Linked DNA regions of Homo sapiens: all the other regions are linked to region 3. Evidence: promoter capture Hi-C in human tissues and cell types (Jung and others, 2019). All regions are on one chromosome and are shown on one strand. The core of a region is centred on a gene start or on the middle of the fragment in contact, and the rest is flanking DNA. Distances in the headings are between cores, read along the strand shown. Region 1 overlaps EBF2 (EBF transcription factor 2). Region 2 overlaps EBF2 (EBF transcription factor 2). Region 3 holds the start of DOCK5 (dedicator of cytokinesis 5).

Region 1 (3,789 bases), core at 737-3,236, 720 kb after region 3:
CAAGTTGTCCTCCTGCCTCTGCCTTCCTAAGAGCTGGGATTACAGGCATGAGCCACTGTGCCTAGCACCCTGACATATTTTAAGAGGTAACTCTGGCATTCATGCTGAGGACGGGTTAGACAGGGGAGGAATAAAGACAGGGGCTACAGCCGGGCGCGGTGGCTCACGCCTGTAATCCCAGCACTTTGGGAGGCCCAGGCGGGTGGATCACGAGGTCAGGAAATCGAGACCATCCTGGCTAACACGGTGAAACCCCGTTTCTACTAAAAATACAAAAAAAAATAGCCAGGCGTGGTGGCAAGTGCCTGTAATCCCAGCTACTCTGGAGGCTGAGGCAGGAGAATGGCGTGAATCCGGGAGGCGGAGTTTGCAGTGAGCCGAGATCGCGCCACTGCACTCCAGCCTGGGCGACAGAGCGAGACTCCGTCTCAAAAACAAACAAACAAACAAACAAAAACAGAAAAAAAAAGACAGGGGCTGTGGCAGCTTTTGAGGAGAGAGGTGGATTTAATAGATACTTAGGAGGAGGCAGCGACACTTTGACAATGAAAGAGGAGGGAATGAATCAGGGAACAAGCAGTGAGTTCTGTTTTGAACACGTGCTCATTAGTCATCCAGGGAAGATGCCCAGAAGGAAGCTAGCATTATATGCCTGCAGCTCTAAAGAAGTCTGAGAATATGGATACAGAAATCATCCAGGAACAGAGAGCATTTGAAGCCAAGAGAGTGGATGAGAGATCACCAGGAAAAGTCCTAAGTGGACAGATCCCCACTGTTAAAGGTTACCTTACATGAAGGATGCCTATTGGGCTTTAAATGAATTCCATTTCTTTAGACTAGAGGTCCATGGAAGCTTGAGATATTTCAAGTGGTCTGGAGACCCCTGAAATTTTAATTAAAACTTTAAACGTAGTATTTCAATGGGATACAGACTATAGCTTTTACCAGATTCTTAAAGGGGTCTGGGCCAAAAAAAAAAAAAAAAGGTTAAAAAGGGTTAAAAGGGTTAAAACCCTTTGTGTTTCAGTATTTTTTATGTCCTATAATACTTAGGACTTGAATGAAATTAAAGAGAGGATTGGTTCAAGCTTGAAAATAACCTTGATGTAACAATTTTGGTCTGATTGGATGATTTTTGTAAAAAGAATCCAGGTTCCACCAGTGTTTGGGGGTAAGGGAAGGAGGGGGGAGAGTTTTATAGAGTTCAGGATTTGGGTAGAAATTTTTCATATTTCTATTCCATTCAGATCAAATCCTCACGAAAGAATCCTTCATATTAAATTTATGTTTGATCATATCACAAAAGTAGAGAATTGAAGGAATTGTGTATATGGCTCTAAATGATTGTCTTTGTCCTTCTGAGTGAGATACATACTCTAGGAATTTCTGAAAGTCACCATCCATTCAGATGACTGTCCTACCACCATGAGTATGCACTCTCTCTGGTTTTGTTTCATATTTGGAACCTGAACTAAGTTTCTTACTTGACTATGATAGCATATTGCTAAGCCTGTCTTCATAATAACCTTCTCTATGAGAGAGCTTTCATTGAAGGTTATATTCTTAGTAGAATCTAAGTACAGTATAAAAATTGCCAATTCTTTTGTGCACCAAAGGACACTATCAAGAAAGTGAATGACAACTCATGGAATAGGAGAAAATATTTTCAAATCACATGTTTGAGAAGGAGCCAGTATCCTGAATATATAAAGAACTCTTACAGCTCAACAATAAAATGACAAATAATGCAACTAAAAAATGGGCAAAGGATTTAAATAGACACTTCCTCAAAGAAGATATACAAATGAGCAATAAGCACATGAAAAGATGCTCAAAATCACTAATCATTAAGGAAATGCAAATCAAAACCACAATGAGATACCTCTTCACACCCATAGGATGACTAGAATTTTTTTAAAACAGAAAATCCCAAGTGTTGGCGAGGAATTGACACCTTCACAGATTACCAGTGGAAATGTAAAATGGTGCAACCACTATGGAAAACAGTTTGGCAGTTCCTCAAAAACTTAAAGAAACAATTACCATATGACCCAGAAATTCTGTTCTTAGTTGTATACCCAAGAGAATTAAAAACATATGTCACACAGTGAAACTGTGCACAAATACTAACAGTGTCATTGTTTGTAATAGCCAAAAAGTGAGACAATCCAAACGTCCACTAACTGACTAATGAATTTTAAAATGTGATATATCCATACAATGGAATAGTCAAGCTGTAAAAAGGAATGAAGTATTGATACATGCTATCACATAGAGGAACTTTAAAAACATTATGCTAACAGACAAAAACAGACACAAAAGCCACATATTGTATGATTCTATTTATGTTAAATTCCCAGAATAGACAAACCTATAGAGACAGAAAGTAGATTAGTGGTTGCCAGTGAATGGGGAGAAACAGGAACTGGGAGACATGAGATTTCTTCTTGGGATAATAGAAAAGTTCTGGAATTAGATAGTGGTGCTGGTTGTACAACACTTTGAATGTACTAAAAACCACTGGACCCTGCACTTTTAAATGGTTAAAATGGTGAATTGTATGTTATATGAATTTTATCTCAGTAAAAAATGCAAACAAATTGCCAGTTGACTTTAGCTCTACCCTTGAAATAAGACAATCAGAGAATCCACAAAGTCTAAACAATTCTTTTTGCCCTTGTCTTTGCAAAAGTCAAATACTTTCACATAGGATGAGAATTCTATATCATTTTGAGATCAACAATATTTATTCTATGCCAATGAAAAACTCAGGCACCATGAAAACCCCATTTAAGTAAATAACTAAAGAAGTAGAGGAAATATTAGCATGCATTTGCTTTGTGAATATATTCCTAAACTTTGGGAGAAAGAAAATGACAAGGCATTCTCCTACAATGGAAGCCTCTTCACATTTACAAGAGTATCCTCAAATTCTCAAATTTAAAACTCTTTGAAAGTGCTGGTAGAAAGTAGGATGGAATAAAAATCCAAACTGCCAACTCTCTTTTCTCTGCCTCTGTATCTTCTAGAAATAAAGCTAAGCTTTGGTCATGGAGGCACTTTGGAATTCTTTTGAATTTTACTCTTCTTTGGACTGAAATTATTTACATTTTTATTTGGAATATTGAGCACAGTGAATTTCCACCATGCACGAAGTTCCTGTTTGATCCCCCAAGAAGGCTGGTTTTATTTCTGTTTTTCTTCATACAAGAAAGTAGGCCCAGAAGCGGTGGCTCACACCTGTAATCCCAGCAATTTAGAAGGCTGAGTCGGGTGGATCACTTGAGGTCTGGAGTTTCAGACCAGCCTGGCCAACATGTCAAAACCTCATCTCTACTAAAAATACAAAAATTAGCCAGGCGTGGTGGCATGTGCCTGTAGTCCCAGCTACTCAGGAGGGTGAGGCAGGAGAATTGCTTGAACCCAGGAGGAGGAGGTTGCAGTGAGCCAAGATCATACCATTGCACTCCAGCCTGGGTGACAGAGCGAGACTCCATCTCAAAACAAACAAACAAACAAACAAACAAACAAAAAAAGGCAGGGAAACAGCCTGCCCAAGAGAGAAAAAGTCTCCAACTTTTTAAAGGGAGGCTGGTAATAGTGTTAAGTATTGTAATGAAAAATGTTCCTGTCACAGCAAGATTGATAGCCATGATGGGGTTAAAAAATACTACTACTAGTTTTTTTTTCAAAGTAACTCTCAGTAGCCCTTGTGTATGGCCATCTTCCTGTTAACTCTTGAATGGCTCTGCTCCTAAACATCTGTCTGATTGTGGCCTAACCACAGAA
Region 2 (4,039 bases), core at 1,380-3,879, 740 kb after region 3:
TGCCTGTGAGTCACGATGGGCTGTGGGGCCTCAAATCCCTTCACAGCCGATCTGGGGCAAAGGAAAAAGCATTCAGCTTTTTCATTTTCATAATAGGAAGATTTTTTGCAGAGCCCTTATAGCCCGTGTGGGGGAATGCTTTTTAAAGGTCAAATGTGACTGTCCCTATATTTGGGTTTGGAAATTCACAGACTCTGATTATAAATATTGCTGAAGTGCGACTGATATGTGCAGGTACCAGCCAATTCCTTGATATGCCCTCTTTTGTCTATTTCTTTGCTATCCCTCAGCCCCCAAGTCCCAATAGGTGTTCTAAAGAGTCTTGCCTCAAACACGTGGTCAGCTCGAAGGGCTTAAGGGAACTAGAGAACTATGAGTCCTTCTACCGGGAAGCAAGACCACCAGGTGAGGGCTCTGTGTCCCCAGGTACCAGTGGGCCACAATACAACATGGGAGGGAGATCTCGTTGCTCTCGCCGTATGGTGGCCTGGTTGAGAAGTCGAGGGTTTCTGTGTATTCTCTGGCCCTGAATCCAAGGCAGGCTGGCTCCCCCACTTTCACTGGTGCCATTGGGAAAAGAGAGTATTTTGGAAACATTGTGTCGGGCCTGGGATGTGTCTCCTCTCACCCCCACCTTTCTAATAATCTTCCCAAGTTGGCTAAGAAATAATAAACTATTGCTTAGATGAGATGATGATCAAGTCTCTAAGGAAATAGCTCAGAAAGGTGAAGACTCTTGCCTCTGTGAGCTGGACATCGGTTTTATACTTCGACAATGTGGATGTATCTTTGTCTGTATGCATCACCTTCTCTGACTCACAGTGTGCAGTACTGAGGGTGTCCATTTAGTCCAGAAAGTCTGCATATTGATCCCATCTCTATGACACTCATTGATTCCTCCATATGTTCCACTTTGTCAAAGTCCAGGCATAAAAACTCCCAGAAGCATGAGTCCTCTCCACATTCCCAGGCTCTTTCCTAAGAGATTTTACTACCATTCAACACAGACAGGAGTTGATTTCTCAGCAAGACTTTGAAAGTACATTCGAGAGTTCTATTCATCACCTTTGAGGCAACGTAAATTCACCAAACTGCCCTGAAGATCTGAGCAAAGGATCTCCAACAGATCAGATTATCCCCCTGGAATGAAGGAGGAGGTCCACATGATCTTTTCCGGGCCAGCAAGAGGATTCAGAAGTCCAAGGATTCCGTAGATGAAAGAGAGTTTCAGGATTGTGATGGTTAGTTCTTGTCAACATGGCTGGGTTCTAGCACCCAGTTACTTAATCCAACACTAATCTAGGTGTTACACTGAAGGTACATCTACAAACTGGTTGACTCTAAGTAGAGGGATTACCCTTGATAATGTGGATGGGTCTCATCCAATCAGTTGAAGGCCTCAATGGCAAAAACTGAAGTTTCCTGGAGAAAAAAAAAATTCTGCCTCAAAACTGGAGCATTGACTTCTGCCAGGGTTTCCAGCCTGCTGGCCTGTCTTATGAATTTCAGACTTGCCATCTCCCACCCCACCCCACCCTACAATAAGCCAATTCCTTATCTTGTATATATCTAGATATCATGTATTTATATATCTAGATATCATATATATTTATATATAATACTATCGTGTATGTTATATATATTATATACACATCATGTATATTATATATCATATATAATATACATGATATATATACATTTCCTATTGGTCCTTTTCTCTGGAGAACCCTGGCTGATTCAAGGACCAACAGGAAATTTCCACTCTAGAGAGAACTTCTATCACTATAGAAACTTGAAAACACAAAAGAACGTAAAACCACCAAATAATGTGGTCCTTTCTGCTAGGGTGGGCAACTCCTGCTGGAGTTCCTGGTGCACATTAAACCTCACAGGAGCTTCCCTCTGAGTGTTAGAAGAGGGGACAGGGGAGAGGATGGCAGAGGAGTCCTGTGATTGGCTTGGCTATGGCCTTAGAACACTCTTATTTGTATATATCATGCTAAAATGTACTCAGTTGGAACTTAAGTCCTAAACAGTGTGGGGTTTATATAATATTGTTATTATAGTGCAGAAATAATTAAAGTGTGTCAAGTTTTGCATTTTTTAAAAATCTTCTCTGAGAAATCCCCGACTTTTCTACAAGGATTTCATAACTCTAATAAGAAAGCCCTGTCATGAATAAAACCTGGCCCACATTGCCTCAGGAAAAGCCCAGAATGTATTTACTCCACTTGATTAAAATAGAAATATATATATTATAAAAAAGTCCATCAGATAAGGAACACGGCTTGTCTCCTCTCCTATCCTCCACACAAAGGTAGCCAAAACTTTGCGAATCTGTCAGAAATGGGTTTCCCCTAATTAAAAGGGAAAAGGAATAAATTAGAATCTGGTAAGAGTAAAAGGTTTTTTTTAGGTTGAATTCATACTGAAAAAAATTAGAAGTACAGCTAGTGTGGATTCCTGAGACATGTACCCACTCTCTTTAGACTGTTGCCATCTAAGGTGCACACGCTGGATTTCCACATGCTGCAGGAATTGAAGAACCTCTTAGAAACCTGGTCTTCATAAACTTAAGGCTTATCTGGGTTAGCTGCAAGAGACAGCAAGAGAACCCATGCAGATCTTTCATATGCTCCCATCTGACTCATTCCCTGTCCTCTTCTCCCCACGACCATTCCTGCCCCAACTTGGCCCAGAAACCAAATGTGAATTTTCTATTTCCCACCTCAGCACTAGTCCATGCCAGGACACCAGCTGACAATTTCTTGGTTTTATTGTCAATAGCTGTACCATGTGATCAATTACTGTCTTCACTTAGAACGAAGCCAGAGCCCAAGAATATTTATATTCTACCAATACGTGCCTGTTACAAGAGAAGGAAATATGAGTTATTAAGTTTAACTTTTTATGTGAATTCAGAGTTTAACAATGGAAATATGTACAAAGAAGCTTTAAATGAAGTATTTACCAACATTCCTTATACATGTCAGGCACTAGGCTACATGGGATAATGATTAATAATAAAATGATTTTTAAATGAAAAAAAAAAAAAAAAAAACCAGGGAAATGGAGAGGAGAAAGGAACTAGAGGACACCTCTTTCCACCAGGAAGTGGACCAGGCTTGGCCAAACTACAAACAGACCAGCAAGGAGTTCCTACTTGCTACACAGGAGGGCTCTAACATGCAGAATGCTTTCGAGGATTAAACAAAATCTCATGTATTAAGTGCTGACGCAGTGAGATGCCTCTATCTCCACACTCAATAACCAGGAGTTGTATTATATTATTATAATCAGTTCAAAAAGAACTATGCAGACAGATTTCAATGGAAAGTAATATTACAACTAATAAGAGTGAAGAATACAATTAATGCTTCCTCAGTGTTGAGCAGTGATCTGCTCATGTTGATTCATTTAAATACTCACGACAGTCCTGTGAGATATTATCGCATCAATATCCCTGTCTTACACAGACAAGGAAACTGAGGTTAAGGAACTTTCACAAGGTCACACAGCTACCAGATGGTGGAGACGGGATGTGAACAGGGCATCCTGGCTCCACAGTTTGCTTGTTTAAAACACACTGTCCTAATCCAACTCCTGTTAGAGAGAGAAGTAATCAGTGCAAATTTTTTCCTTCTGAAAACATTTTGTCAGGGTCTATGGTGACTTAGAGCACTTAGTACGATGCTTATTGAGAGCAGACACTCGACGAGGCTTTTTATTGTGGGCTTACTCTGTTTTTAAGGCAAGGAGCTTCTCTATTTCAAGATTTTTTCACTATGTGCCTTCATTTCTTCCTATCGGGTACTTTTTTTTTCCACTTTTGAAATCTTCCTTAATAAACATGTGTGCTTAAAAAAAATCTTCTAAGTTCTATTCCTCTTTCAGAGCACACACAAATGCTATCTCCCTTGTAAGTCAGGATCCTTTGGTCCACAATGACTCCCTCCTTGGGACGTCTAAACACACATGAGTAAGGTCATGTTGATCCTGGTTGAGTCTTCACAGTCTTGTTCTTCACACACCTACTTCC
Region 3 (3,471 bases), core at 22-2,521:
GCCAGGCTGGTCTGGAACTCGTGACCTCAGGTGATCCACCCGCCTCGGCCTCCCAAAGTGCTGAGATTACAGGCATGAGCCACCACGCCTGGCCAACTACCTGTCTTTACTATCTTTACTACATGTTTGTCTTCCTTTCTTTTATATTCCTAAAACGCATGAAAACCTTCACAGGCTGCAAGGAGGATATAATTTCTCTCTAGAGGAATCTTCTTCGAAGGTGAACGTAATTAAGCTGGTCATTTACTCTACTTGCAATGTTACTTCTCGGTACAAGGTAGGGAGAAACCCCTGGATCTTCATTCTCCAAGTCTCTCCAGGAAGAAATGAATTCCAAGAGGGGAGCTCCAGAGAGGGCGCCACCTGGAGCCCAAGGCGGTTCAAATGCGCAGCCCCTTTGGGATCTTCGTCAAGAAAAGGCAGTCGTTGACGGAGAAAAGACGGGGATGCGCCTTGGCCCTTTCTCCACGGGAATGCTCTCTGGGCTGCTGGCTGGTTGGGAAAGGGAGGTCTGGGCATGAGGGTCTAAGTTTCTTCAGCTTAAGGTTGGGGGGTCCCCGGAGTTTGGGGATACAGGACTTCCAAATTAGGGCTTTCTAAACAATTTCCCTGCAGAGGATCCCCTAGCAAACGGTCTGATACTTCTGAGGAGCCCACCTCCCTTGCACCAGCTCTCCGGTGATAAAAGTTCTGCTTTCCAGGCTCTAAGCGGTGGCCCCGGGAGATTCAGTCTGCCCTGAGTCCGGCTTCTCCCGCTCGCGGCGCGGGTTCAAGCTCCAGGGGGTGAAGGCAGAAGTCAACTGCTCATTCATTCAACAAATATTTATTGCGCGCCCGCTTAGTGCCAGGCACCGGAGGTGCCCCGAGCAAGAAGCCGCTCTCGCTGATCCGTTTCCGCTCCCCAAGTGTCCGGCGCGCGCCGTGGGAGCGCAGCCCGCATCCCTCGCCCACCGGCCGCCCGGCCTGGGCGTGCCCGGCTCCTCCAGCGCAGCCCTCTGTCGGGAGCCGGACCCCCGGGACCCAGCCTCCGGGGTATCAGCCGGGTGGGGAGGGCGGGAGAAAGGCAAAGTGCCGCCAGCGTCAAAGTCCCGCCGGCCCAGGAAGCCGCTCCAGGGAAGCGCGCGAGGCGGAGCCGCAGTCGGCCCCCGCCCGGCAGAGCGCAGAGAGCGGCGCGGGCGGGAGAGGCCGGGCGCCCGCGGCTCGGAGGCGGCCCCGGCGGGCGGAGGGTGCGGCCGGCGGGAGGGACTGGGGCGGCGCCAGGAGGGGCGCGCACTGCTGCGCTGCAGCCCGGCCCAGCAGGTGACCGCGGGCGGCGCGGGCACGGGCACGGGCGCGGGCGGCGCGGCGAGGAGGCGGCCCGCGGAGTCCAGCGAAGTTTGGCGGAACATGGCGGAAGCGTCTGGGGCACGCAGGAGCGCGGGGCGGCGGCGGCCGGAGCCCGAGGAGCTGTAGCAGCCTTAGTCGCCGCCGCCGCGGGGCGAGGTCGCCGCCATGGCCCGCTGGATCCCGACCAAGAGGCAGAAGTACGGGGTTGGTGAGTGCGCGCCCCACCTTGTCCCGGCCCGACCCACGCGGCCAAGTTCGCGGACAGCGGCCCTGCCAGGTTTGCGCAGAGCCCGGCGGAGGACCCTGGCCGGGGGCTCGGCCCGGCTGCGCAGCTCTGGGAGCCGGGGACGGTAGGAGTCCTCTCCAGGGAGCGCCGATGGGGAAGTCGCCCAGGGTTTGGGGACTCCGAGTGCTTCCAAGTGCAGCTGAGCTTCGGGACCGTAATCCCGCTCTTGCATCCCAATCTCCGGCACTTCACACCAGGGAAATGTCAACGCGAGGGGGGCGCGCCTGCTGCTCTTTTGGGGCCGCAGCTCTGTGGCTCGCCCCGGTGCGCCCAGCGTGGGTTTCACCTGGGAGTAGGTGACCAGCCCGGGTCGGCACATGGACTGGTGCTCATTGTCCCAGTGCTTTCTGCCCCCCGCTTTCGTAGGTTCTTCTCAGACGCCCCTTAAGTGAGGAGTTGAGGGTGGAAAGCCGCCCTGCCCCCTTTCCTCCAGAGACTGGGATCTTGATGACAGTTGTGAGCTGGATGGAAACTAGAGTCGTGGCGTGGAAGTGATGGAAGGGACAGGAAGTTGTGGCACGGGAAGGGGGTGGCTGGCCCCTGGGGCTGTTTGTGCGCACTCATCCCCTAACGGAGCCTGTCTGGAGAGGGTGTAAGGCTGCCTTCCGGATCCTGAGTTTCATCCTGGAGACGAGAAGAGGACATTTTATTAAGGAAACTGTGCCAGACCCCGTGCTGGGCACTTGGCATTCAGAACAGCGGTGCTGGAGAGCCCCGGGTTGTGCGCAGGGGTTGCTGGTGGTGGTGCTTTGGCTCCGAAACAATAGATGTGCGGGGATTTTGACCCAGGTGGAAAGTCAGGCTCCTTTGGCTTTTTATCAAGGATTGAAGTTATTGAGGGCCTGTGGGAAGACTTCTGCCCTGAACGGGGTGATTACAATGGCAGTTAGACCTGGGGTGATTCCCTACAATAAACACGGCTGAGTGTGTTGCGAATTTTATCACTTCCTCTCAGATCCATTCATTTGGCCTGTTTGTAATTTAGTCTTTGACTTTACTCCCTTACTGAGGTCCTGTTTTTCCTCACCTCACTGGTTAATGAAGTGCAGTCTCAATTAAGAGCTACTCAACGTGTCTAGGGGCTTTTCAACTCTGTAGCCAGGAGTCAGGGTTTTTTGTTGTTGTTTGTTTTGTTTTTTAACAGTCTCATATTTACTATATTATTCTTAGGTTGTGATCCTTTATATATTTATTATTTTTTGTTTTCCCTCAATTCAAAAGACATTTTCTTTTTTGCTCTTAAGTTGCTTTTAGAATCTTAGTCTCTCCCTTAGCTGCATCTCAGAAATGGGTAGAGATGTTGCTTCTGCCTCAGGGCTCTTTTTTTTTTTTTTTTTGGTTTGTTTGTTTTTGAGACGGACTGACGAGGGAGTCTCACTCTGTCGCCCAGGCCGGAGTGCAGTGGCGCAATCTCGGCTCACTGCAAGCTCCACCTCTAGGTTCCAGCAATTCTCCTGTCTCAGCCCCCCTCCCCGAGTAGCTGGGATTACGGGCTTGCATCACTACACCTGACTAATTTTTGTATTTTTAGTAGAAACCAGGTTTCGCCATCTGGGCCAGGCTGGTCTCAAACTCCTGACCTCAGGTGATCCGCCTGCCTCGGCCTCCCAAAGTGTTGGGATTACAGTCATGAGCCACCTCACCTGGCCCCTAGATGAAAGCATATTTACAATGCCCAATCACTACAGAAATGTTATCAACTCTAATTTTATCAGGATTAAAAGCTCTTTTCAAAACTATTCAGTTGAGGGTAATTAATGCAAACATGTTTCAAAAATGTGGTTTTTATTGCCATAGTCCTAGGAGCAAGTATAATTGTTTTTAATATTTTGTTTTTATGTTCTGGAGTCAGTTTACTG

Evidence for each region. Contacts are between HindIII fragments. The study calls those that stand out against the background at their distance.
Region 1: a fragment that was not itself captured here is called in contact with the fragment with the promoter of DOCK5 in region 3 in 1 of the 25 tissues and cell types used here (lymphoblastoid cells).
Region 2: a fragment that was not itself captured here is called in contact with the fragment with the promoter of DOCK5 in region 3 in 1 of the 25 tissues and cell types used here (lymphoblastoid cells).

What each region holds. Positions count from the first base shown.
Region 1 is chr8:25,903,267-25,907,055 of GRCh38, forward strand. All of the region lies in intron 7 of EBF2 (EBF transcription factor 2), which reads right to left. Among named protein-coding and RNA genes, the nearest start is that of EBF2, 140 kb to the right of the region's middle. The HindIII fragment of the contact is 3,511 bases long and covers 232-3,742 here.
Region 2 is chr8:25,925,741-25,929,779 of GRCh38, forward strand. The region is part of intron 6 of EBF2 (EBF transcription factor 2); the gene reads right to left. Among named protein-coding and RNA genes, the nearest start is that of EBF2, 120 kb to the right of the region's middle. The HindIII fragment of the contact is 5,568 bases long and covers 1-4,039 here.
Region 3 is chr8:25,183,418-25,186,888 of GRCh38, forward strand. DOCK5 (dedicator of cytokinesis 5) reads left to right here and starts at 1,272. Exons shown (of 52, transcript NM_024940.8): 1 at 1,272-1,534. The coding sequence starts at 1,492. It overlaps LOC124901912 (a long non-coding RNA gene), which reads right to left and starts at 960. Exons shown (of 2, transcript XR_007060861.1): 1 at 1-960. RefSeq lists silencers at 1,090-1,169, 1,180-1,349, 1,520-1,569. The HindIII fragment of the contact is 16,568 bases long and covers 1-3,471 here.